Linked DNA regions of Homo sapiens: region 1 is linked to region 2. Evidence: promoter capture Hi-C in 16 types of primary human blood cells and fetal thymus (Javierre and others, 2016). All regions are on one chromosome and are shown on one strand. The core of a region is centred on a gene start or on the middle of the fragment in contact, and the rest is flanking DNA. Distances in the headings are between cores, read along the strand shown. Region 1 holds the start of TSPYL1 (TSPY like 1). Region 2 holds the start of MAN1A1 (mannosidase alpha class 1A member 1).

Evidence for each region. The method cuts DNA at HindIII sites, captures the fragments that hold promoters and counts their contacts. A CHiCAGO score of 5 or more calls a contact.
Region 1: a contact is called between the fragment with the promoter of TSPYL1 here and the fragment with the promoter of MAN1A1 in region 2, in 1 of 17 cell types (activated CD4 T cells). The highest score is 9.9, in activated CD4 T cells.

What each region holds. Positions count from the first base shown.
Region 1 is chr6:116,277,092-116,282,517 of GRCh38, reverse strand. TSPYL1 (TSPY like 1) reads left to right here and starts at 2,588. Exons shown (of 1, transcript NM_003309.4): 1 at 2,588-5,426. The coding sequence starts at 2,688. The coding sequence ends at 4,001. It also overlaps a transcript of DSE not described here. RefSeq lists enhancers at 2,595-2,654, 2,885-3,154, 3,175-3,224. The HindIII fragment of the contact is 6,415 bases long and covers 1,259-5,426 here.
Region 2 is chr6:119,348,202-119,353,695 of GRCh38, reverse strand. MAN1A1 (mannosidase alpha class 1A member 1) reads left to right here and starts at 3,935. Exons shown (of 13, transcript NM_005907.4): 1 at 3,935-4,154; 2 at 4,409-5,233. The coding sequence starts at 4,631. RefSeq lists silencers at 3,375-4,014, 4,525-4,724, 4,785-4,904 and an enhancer at 5,115-5,464. The HindIII fragment of the contact is 6,871 bases long and covers 2,259-5,494 here.

The DNA of each region.
Region 1 (5,426 bases), core at 1,339-3,838, 3.1 Mb after region 2:
CAGAGTCCTGATTATACTTACATGATCCTAATTAGAGTTTTCCTAGCATTACTGGTAAGAGTGTTAATTACATTAATTACATAATGGCTTCTTTGACAAATAAAGCCATATATTCTAAGATTGGTCCAAGCCTGACACTCCTTTCTGCTTAAAAAAAAATAGGAGACATATTGGAATAATAGAAGTTTCCACTTTAGGCCGAATGAAATTATACCAGTTCAAAATAGAAGATGATTTCATGGCAATTAGAAACAGTCTTTGTGGAAAGTTCCAATATTCCTTTTTATTTACACCAAAAGTAATTCCAGCCATGCATCACAGGCTCCATCACTTGTAGAGAGAAATGCATTATATATTTCTGTAGACAGAAACGAAGTAAAGCCTGAAATGATTACCTTGACTTTTTCAGAAAGGAGAGAATTGGAAATACAGTGCTGGTAGTCCGAGGCTTTGATATGTAAACTCACCTAAATATGCTGGTCTTTTCAGAGTTCGTTTGTCATACAGTGTGACCACACAAACTTAAATTATTTGTAAAATAAAATTGTTTTCTCTGTGTTTTTCCTATCCTTTTAGAGCCTTTGAAACATATATAGAAATTCATTCTCCTGAGTAGGAAACTGTTACTATATAGAATAGAGCAGCCCTCTGGTTTGCCAGTGGCAGATAGGAAGGAGAGCAGAGTGACAACCCATATGCCCCTTACTTCTCTTCCGCAAGGAGCAAGTTGCAAGCAAGAGAAACTGTTTTCTGCTCATTTGCTCCTTTATTTAACATTTTAATAATCTATGGGATACTGTGTAAGGTAGTGTGCTAGGCACTCGATAAACAGAGGGAAACGAAACCATGATCATGTCCTCTTGCAGTTTACAGTCTCCTCAGATATCGTTTGTGGTATGTTTAGGCTTTAATTTTGTCTTTCTGTGCATTTGCCTAAGTATATTTCTGGTCTTGATATTGAAAGACAGATTCAAGCTGTAATACATCACAGCTGTTGGGCAGGAACTCACGGGAAGCCATGAGCAAGGTAGAAGGGGCTGCTATTAGAAACAACTTGAGGCACCCATAGATGCAACCAAACCTTAATCCAAGGTGTATTCATTTCATATTGCTTCTGTAACAAATTACCACAAATTTAATAGCTTAAAATGCACAAATTTATTTTCTTATAGTGCTGGAGTTTAGAGGTAATAACCTCAAGGTGTTGTCATTCCTTTGGAGGCTCTAGGATTGAATCTATTTCCTTACCTTTCAAGCTTCTAGAGGCTGCCTTTATTCCTACGATCCTGGCTCCTTCCTCCATCTTCAAAGCCAGCAACATAGCGATTTCCCTTTCCTCCCTCCCACACCTATTCTCCACCATTCCTTCCCTCTCTCTGTGCTTTCGTCCTCTTATCTTCTCTGACTGACCCTCCTGCCTCCTTCTTATAAGAAATTTGTAATTCCATAGGGCCCACCTGTATAATCCAGAATCATCTTCTCATCTCCAAATCTTTAACTTAATCATATCTGCGAAGTCCCTTTGGCCGCATAACTAAGACAGGTACATCTTTGAGGGCCATCAGGCTACTACCACACAAAGCAAATTAAGTAGAAAATAACGTTTGCCTCTTTTATACCTTGAGTCCACCAGCTGCATGTTGCCCTTTGCAAGTTTGTTTTCTACTTCAAGGCCATCTTAGTTGTCCATTTTAACTAGCCTTTCCTCACAAAATGGTGGTATGTGGCTCCCCCCACTGATATTTCTCTGAGGCCTTGTAGCTCTCTAAGACAGCACCAGTTTAACTCACAAGTCAACAAACTGGAACACTTCAACCAGAGACATTGACATCCCCCTCTAATGAACTCAGCTGATTGCTAAAGACAGATGCTTCGTTAGAGCCAAACATTCCTATCTTACATAACTAAATATGATAATAAATTAAGTTCTTGGGGCTGGAAATAGTTATAATTTCCTCTTTCTTGCAGTGAAAAGGCATGGAACATTTAGCAAACTGATCCTGGCTTAATTTCTACCGATACTATGCAGCACAAACTCTTATTTGATGCAGATTATAAATCGAAAATTAGCAATGAATACTATGCATCGCTTTAGTGGTAAGAGGCTGCTGAGTAGCTTTTTTTCCCCAGTAACCGTAGAGGCAAGAATTGATATTTTTATGTCACTTTTACTAAGAAGGGGGGAAACATTTTGCTATTAATCTTAAAGAGAAGTCTTTTGCTGCTAGTTACGTGGAGTAACAGGGAATAGATTTACCTTCCTGCCTCAAAAAAGTGAAGACCAGAAAAACATTTGTTTTCAGACACTGGAGAGCAGGCACTGTTACGGCTGTGATTTTACAACTGCTCCTACATGCTGGGAGCAGTCGCTAGATGCATCTCAAGGTGGGTCGTCCGCGCTTCCAGACTCAGCACAATCGACATTTATTTACGTAGGTAAAATTACTGTTGCTATGGGTAAATTCACAGAAATAAAGCCCAGAGAATCCGGTTGGCTGGCAGGGAGCGGCGGAACCAATCCCGGGCTCAGCAAGTTCTCGCGATACCGTGAGATCTCCAGTCCTGACGACACCGCCGCTGAAATGTTAGTGAGACTGTAGGGTGGGCGGTGCGAGCGGCGGTTAGCTCCCAGTTCGGCCTCTGAGGAAAACGGGCGTTCGCCTGCGGTTGGTCCGACTGTTAGCAACATGAGCGGCCTGGATGGGGTCAAGAGGACCACTCCCCTCCAAACCCACAGCATCATTATTTCTGACCAAGTCCCGAGCGACCAGGACGCACACCAGTACCTGAGGCTCCGCGACCAAAGCGAGGCGACACAGGTGATGGCGGAGCCGGGTGAGGGAGGCTCGGAGACCGTCGCGCTCCCGCCTCCACCGCCTTCAGAGGAGGGGGGCGTACCCCAGGATGCCGCGGGCCGTGGCGGTACTCCCCAGATCCGAGTTGTTGGGGGTCGCGGTCATGTGGCGATCAAAGCCGGGCAGGAAGAGGGCCAGCCTCCCGCCGAAGGCCTGGCAGCCGCTTCTGTGGTGATGGCAGCCGACCGCAGCCTGAAAAAGGGCGTTCAGGGTGGAGAGAAGGCCCTAGAAATCTGTGGCGCCCAGAGATCCGCGTCTGAGCTGACGGCGGGGGCGGAGGCTGAGGCGGAGGAGGTGAAGACAGGAAAGTGCGCCACCGTCTCAGCAGCCGTGGCTGAGAGGGAGAGCGCTGAGGTGGTGAAGGAAGGCCTGGCGGAGAAGGAGGTAATGGAGGAGCAGATGGAGGTAGAGGAGCAGCCGCCAGAAGGTGAAGAAATAGAAGTGGCGGAGGAGGATAGATTGGAGGAGGAGGCGAGGGAGGAAGAAGGGCCCTGGCCTTTGCATGAGGCTCTCCGCATGGACCCTCTGGAGGCCATCCAGCTGGAACTGGACACTGTGAATGCTCAGGCCGACAGGGCCTTCCAACAGCTGGAGCACAAGTTTGGGCGGATGCGTCGACACTACCTGGAGCGGAGGAACTACATCATTCAGAATATCCCGGGCTTCTGGATGACTGCTTTTCGAAACCACCCCCAGTTGTCCGCCATGATTAGGGGCCAAGATGCAGAGATGTTAAGGTACATAACCAATTTAGAGGTGAAGGAACTCAGACACCCTAGAACCGGTTGCAAGTTCAAGTTCTTCTTTAGAAGAAACCCCTACTTCAGAAACAAGCTGATTGTCAAGGAATATGAGGTAAGATCCTCCGGCCGAGTGGTGTCTCTTTCTACTCCAATTATATGGCGCAGGGGGCATGAACCCCAGTCCTTCATTCGCAGAAACCAAGACCTCATCTGCAGCTTCTTCACTTGGTTTTCAGACCACAGCCTTCCAGAGTCCGACAAAATTGCTGAGATTATTAAAGAGGATCTGTGGCCAAATCCACTGCAATACTACCTGTTGCGTGAAGGAGTCCGTAGAGCCCGACGTCGCCCGCTAAGGGAGCCTGTAGAGATCCCCAGGCCCTTTGGGTTCCAGTCTGGTTAACATTTGCCCTTGGGAATACTCCTGCACAAGGTCTCCTACCACCTTCTGCTGGACCTGTGCTTGGGCATCAGCAATGAGTATGCCTTCTATTGTGCTTTGTTTTTGCTGACTTTTCTGCACCCTGTTTCCTTTGGATATTCAGTTCTCTCAACCTCAAGATTGAGACGGTGGTGGGTATGCTTCTCCACTTCCATATGACCTTCATGCTGTTCTGGAATATCACATGCTACGAGGTCATCCTTCACACTACTTGTAAGCCAAGCAAATGATACTGTAGATTGTACTGCCTTTATCTGCACTGCTTGGACCCTGTTTATTCCCAGGGCCTCTGAACTGGTTGCTGTCACTTGGATTTCTAGCTTTGGGAGCCTGTTCCACCTACTCAGCTCTGCATTGAGCAGTATGGGCACATGCCCTGTGGACAGTTACTGGACGTTAATGAACTCAGAGGAGAAAAGCAGTGAGCCACTTGTTCTGTGTGATTTATGGTACTTCATTGCTCTTCCTTCACCTCTAGTCACTTTCTATTGCTACCTGCCCTACATTGGCTCCTGCCAAGGTCCCTCTCTCTCCCTGTTTTCCTTTTTTTTTTTTTTTTTTTTTTTTTTGAGACGGAGGACGGAGTCTTGCTCTGTCGCCCAGGTTGGAGTGCAGTGGCGCGATCTCGGCTCACTGCAACCTCCACCTCCCGGGTTCAAGCGATTCTCCTGCCTCAGCCTCCCGAGTAGCTGGGACTACAGGCGCGCGCCGCCACGCCCGGCTAATTTTTATATTTTTAGTAGAGACGGGGTTTCACCATGCTGGCCAGGCTGGTCTCGAACCCCGATCTCGTGATCCGCCCTCCTTAGCCTCCCAATCCTCTCTTAAAAAAGTGATAGCTCAGAAACATTTGTAAAAGCAAGGTTTTTATTTCATTTTGGCTCTGTCATTTTCAGAGGCAAAGAAGTTGGCCTGTAAAATAGAGTGCTAGAGCTCTTACGCCCCTCCCCTTCTTCCCAACTTCCTACTTCCTAGCCCTTTTATCAACTCCTAGAATAGTTAAAGAGAGACACATCTAGATGGGATGAAAGGTGCCCTAAGCAGGAGAAACTGAACAAAAGGCTAGAGGCATGGGCCAGGTAAAAATTGGGCCTAGAGTGAAGACTGTGCTGTCGTTAAGAGCTTTCGAGGAAGGAGTACTTACTCCCCAATGATGATGAATGGAAAAATACTTTTCAGGGAGAATTGAAGGGGTTAAAGTGTTAAATATGTTGCCTAGACAAGGGTTCTTTAAAGAAAGACAGCGCAACTTTGAATGCTTTCTTACTTGTTTTGTGACCTAATTTATGTGGAAGATTGTTATTTCATTAGGATTTAGTAAAATTTTTTTTTCTGATTCTAAACTTATTGTGAAAATTGAGCTGTACAGATATTCTTTTGATTTCA
Region 2 (5,494 bases), core at 2,686-5,185:
CTTGCAAGTTGATTTTAGAATATTTCTGAAACTATCATTATATCTCCTCTTTCAAATAAATCTGTTTGTCCTCAGGCTCTAACATTCATAATAAATAAAACACTTTTCTAATTTAATGTTACTTTGATTACCAGCATTGCAACAGTACTTTTTCCAACATGTTATTCTTCCCTAGGGTGAGGTCTTTGCAGTGCAGGCTAGCAGCCCAAAGCACCATTTACAACCCTGTTTCTATGAAGAAAAATGCTCTGAAAGTTCCAAAGAGCCAATGCACACAAATACTTGCAGGACACAATGTTTTTAAGTTGGGGACAGTTAATATTTATGAAATGTGTTCAAAACAAAACCATATCTTTCAACAGGAGCCTGCAGGAACAGAGGGCTCCTGCCCTCACTGCCCCTGGCACCCACGCCCCCTCAAAAAAATGTGATTGGAATTCTATAAAAATAATCTGCCACTCAGGCAGTTCCAAAGTAAATTGAGGAAGAGCAAAAACATGGAATCAGAAATATAACAGTAGACTCCAATTTGCATACAAATAACACCGATAGTTTCCTTTAAAACTCTGGTTAATTTCCACCTTAATATATCTCATGTAAAATTGAGAGTGCCCATTGAAGTATTGAAACTTCAAGATTAATATTCACAATGAATCATTTTTTACGTATTACATTTGGATTTTTTAAAAAATAAGAGCAAAGACCTATTGTGACCTAGAAAATCTCCCATTAAAAGATTTTATCAGAAATCTAACTTGTTGGAGAATTTCAGTCATTATTTACTGTACATGTAGATTAAATTCATTTCTTTCACTAGATTAAGTTTTATTTAAAGTAAGAGAACAAAAATCCTCAAAAGGATTCTTCCACAAACTTCTAACTAGTACTGCCTAGAAACTTCCTAAGAAATGTTTTTGCACTTCAATTTTTGAGAACTTATAATTTTATAAAAATATAAATTTATCAGTTTTATAAAAATATTGCCAATTTTTCCTCTGTAAGTCTGCTCATAATTATTACTATATTTCATTTTAGGCATGTTAATGTAAAAATTAAATCTACCTTTTGGTAATTTCTTTTGAAAGTAGAAAAATCTAAGCAACAACATTTATTTGGGGATTTCTTTGTAGTGTTTTGTGGTATCACTGATGATCAGGTTTTTAAAAAATTACTTGATTCAAAGATATAATCTTGAAACACAAAAATTTACAAATTATCAAAGAAATACACAAAAACATTAAGTATTGAAAAAGGAAAATGTAAGAATTAAGTTTGCAAGCAAACCTGCAAAAATTACAAGAGAGTTATACTTCAAAAGGACTGGCTGGCCAAATAAAAAAACATAGCAAGTATTTTTTTAAAAATCCCACAAAATTACTAAGGTTCTTAGGTTTACATTAGACCATCCATAATGAGAAACAGCAATTTCAGCACTATCATTGCATTCATAAAGATGGTGACATTACCTTCAGGTAGATGTGGCTAGGGAGTCTTGACTTAGGGGACAAAGTCAAGGTTTCATTACTTAAAAGACAAGAACCAATCACCTTTATTTTTATCTCAGGGTACAAAGTACTTTTTTCAATGGTAGAATGTCAAGTGCTTTGTAGTACTGAAATCAGAGGAAAGTGTCCGATTTTGCTTCTACAAAATGCACAATTTTACTTGTTGACTATTTTCTACTCCTCCCTTACCATGAGCACACAGGGCTTCATGTGATTATTTTAAAGAGGATGCATAATTCGATTGCTATGCCTCTTCAGATACCTTCTTTGTGAATTTTTCAAATTTGCTCTGGCCCAAATATTGGTGTTCCTATATAGTTCTTATCCCACCTAATGTACACAGACACCCTTTAATATGTACCTATAATCAACCACCCATGTTAACTTCTTGTTTAACATATTATCAAAGCCAGGCTGCAAGTATAACCCTGTCATTTAAGAAATACGGAAAATAAGAAAAAAATCTTAAAATAAGCTTCATGATGAACTTAAAAAGAATAGTTACTTTAAAAGATGTAGAAACAACATAGATAAATTTAAAGTTTTTAGGGGAAAAAATCCTTAAACCCACGTACTAAATTTTTAATATTTCCACTACAGAAGTTAAATGCCCAAACTGATTTGGTATCAAAATTAAAGTGTCAGAAATAGAATTAAGTTATAACTTTTATTTATCACCATTTTAACATATACTTAAAAGTGGAATTTATTGTTTTGCTGGAATACTTAATAACATTAATTTGAAATAAAGCTTCTAAATATTTCCGGGGCTATAATTCCATTCTTACAACATAATTTTTAAAATAATAAATCATTCCAAAAAAGGATGATCATAAAGAGATTAGCGTTTGGGGTAGTTAACCCAGTTCCTATTTATCTATCCATTCAAGAGGTAACTCAGTTTTAAGGATGTTGTTAGAAACATTATTTCACAGTGATTCAAACCTTTCAGCCTATGCACAACCTACAAATGCATAATCGTTTGAAATAAAAATTGCCTTTCCATCATTAAAGAAAAATCATCTTTGTTTTCTTTTTCAGTCCTTCTGAACTTATTACCCTGCTTGGATATGCTGCACTCTTCTGGACATAGAATTTCATAGCAGGTATCAAAATAACCAAGCCATAAAGCCAGCTTTATCAAACAATAATTTCCTATTAACAAGAACTTTGAGTGTATTACTCATTTTACACAAAACAAGTAGACGACAAATAATGATGGTTAAAATTAATAATTAAATGATTAAATGAAAACTAGTAAGGATTTCTGATTACTTTTCTACTTTCTCATACAGCTTAACACCTGGAAACAACTGTACTGGAGCCACCTTCCCGAAAGGTGCCAGCTGTTTCCTTTGTCTTAAGCACAAACAGAACTAATGTCACATTTCCAGAGAAGGGTAAGGATGAAATAAGGCGACTACAAACCAGCTTTCAGAAATGCGAAGTCAGTCAACGTTTTCCTCTCTGATAACCCCTTATTTGTGGAGCAACAGGAGAATTACAACACATTTTGGAAAATAATTTCTATTGGACCAACTCCTCACTTCGCTGGAAGTAGTCGGATCCAAGACTTAATTTCAACACAGTGTTCGACTTATTGCTTGAAGCTACCGCAGCATAAAACTCGTCTTCGAATGGAAAATTTGACCAACTTCTATGAGGTAAATGAATAGTGAAAGTACGGGTGGGCGGGAGAGACATACAAGTTTTTTCGGTTTTTTGTTTTTTGGGGGAAGAAAGGGCGCATACGAAAAAAGTCCTAAGCAAGCACAGAACTGTGTCTCTTAGGATGTAAAAGGATGTTATACCAGAGAGCTCAAAAGCTCCCAGGGTCACGGCTCCCCTAACCGAGGGACTTGGGGTTTCACTGCTACCAGGCACCCGGGGAACCCCGGCCTTGGATAAAAAGAGGGTAACTGGAGTAAAGCCGTGCTTCTGAACGACCCAGCGCCCAGGACCCCCTGCCAGACCCCGCCTTTCCCGGGACCCCCTCGGGAGCGCCCCCGACCGCCCCGCACGGGTCGGAGGAGGAGGCAGAGAGGTCCCGCGCGGACCCAGGCGCCTCCCGGGCCAGTCGAGGATCAACCACCCCGGGGACCCCTGCCGAGGCCAGCGCAGGATAAACTCCCCGACCCCGAACTCTGCCTGCCGCTTCTCGGCGCTGGGCCTCAGCCACGGGTTCGACCGTCCTCCTCACCGCGGCTCCCGCCTACCTCGCGCCTCCCGGCCCCGCGACCTCCCCGCCGCCGGCCGGGCCCCGCCGAGGCTGCGCTTCCCGTAAACTCCCCGCCCCGCGCATCCCCCTCCTCGCCTCGGCCCCGCCCCCGCGGGACCCTGGGCGGCGCGTGATTGGCCCGGCCGCGCCGTCACTCTCCGGCCGCGTCGCCTCCCTCGCTTTCCACCGCCCCAAGACCGGCAGTGAGATTAGTGCTCGCGGGGCCGCGGCGGAGTGTACCGTGCTGCTCTACTCGCTGCCATTCGCCCGCAGGTCGGCGCGCTCGCCCACCTGAGCCGCGCCGGGGCTGCGGGACCGTGGGACAGCGCGCTCAGCCCAGCCTAGGAAAGAGGCAGCAGTCTCAGCGCGGAGATGGGGAGCGGGCGAAGTTGACGAGTCTCCCGCCCACGCTGCGCCCCTCCTGCCCAGAGGTGCGCTGCCCCTCCCCGAGGTGCTCGCGCGCTGCCCTGACCCCTTCCTGCGCGGGACACCCCTCCCCTACCCACGGGACCTGATAACTTCACCCCAAGTCCAGAGAGTGGGCTGCGAGGGCGGTGCCCGGACTGGACAGGACTCTGCTTAAGGGGAGCGGTCCTGGAGGCTCGCCAGGAGTCGGAGGGCGGAGACCCGCTGGAAACTTTATCATCGCCGTAATTACTACGTTTTACTGTTTCTCTCCCCGCAGGGGCTGCAGCCAGCGGTCTGTCGCGCGTGCCTGTGTGCCCGAGGAGCCGCCCCGGGGAGAAGACCCGGCGCGGAGTTGTTCCCCCAGGGAGGATCCGCAGCCCAGCCGAGGGGGTCGGGCGGCCTGGCTACGCAGGACCCAGCCCCGCAGCCGCGGACTCCCAGCGGCGGCGAAGTTTGGCTGCTGAGCGGCGCGGCGCCGGACCACTGGACAGCGGGAGCGATGCCCGTGGGGGGCCTGTTGCCGCTCTTCAGCAGCCCCGCGGGCGGCGTCCTGGGCGGGGGGCTCGGCGGCGGCGGTGGCAGGAAGGGGTCGGGCCCCGCCGCCCTCCGCCTGACGGAGAAGTTCGTGCTGCTGCTGGTATTCAGCGCCTTCATCACGCTCTGCTTCGGGGCGATCTTCTTCCTGCCAGACTCCTCCAAGCTGCTCAGCGGGGTCCTGTTCCACTCCAGCCCCGCCTTGCAGCCGGCCGCCGACCACAAGCCCGGGCCCGGGGCGCGCGCCGAGGACGCGGCCGAGGGGCGAGCCCGGCGCCGCGAGGAGGGGGCACCCGGGGACCCGGAGGCCGCCCTGGAGGACAACTTGGCCAGGATCCGCGAAAACCACGAGCGGGCTCTCAGGGAAGCCAAGGAGACCCTGCAGAAGCTGCCCGAGGAGATCCAAAGAGACATCCTACTGGAGAAGAAGAAGGTGGCCCAGGACCAGCTGCGTGACAAGGCGCCGTTCAGAGGCCTGCCCCCGGTGGACTTCGTGCCCCCAATCGGGGTGGAGAGCCGGGAGCCCGCCGACGCCGCCATCCGCGAGAAAAGGGCAAAGATCAAAGAGGTGAGTGGGCCGCGCCAGAAATCCCTCCCGACCGGCCGTGTTTTTCAGGGAGAAACGGCAAGCCTTTGAAACTCTGAAGACTGCAACAATGCAATGTATGGGGAGATGGAGGTTTGCCCCTTCCACCAGGTGCTGTGTCAAAAGCTCTTTCTTTTCCTGTTTCCAATATAGTAGTAGATGTGTCCAGTAAGATCTAAGGTCAAATCTCGTTGCTTTTAATTTGCATGCTCTTGCTCTGGTGACCACAAGCCACACGAGGTG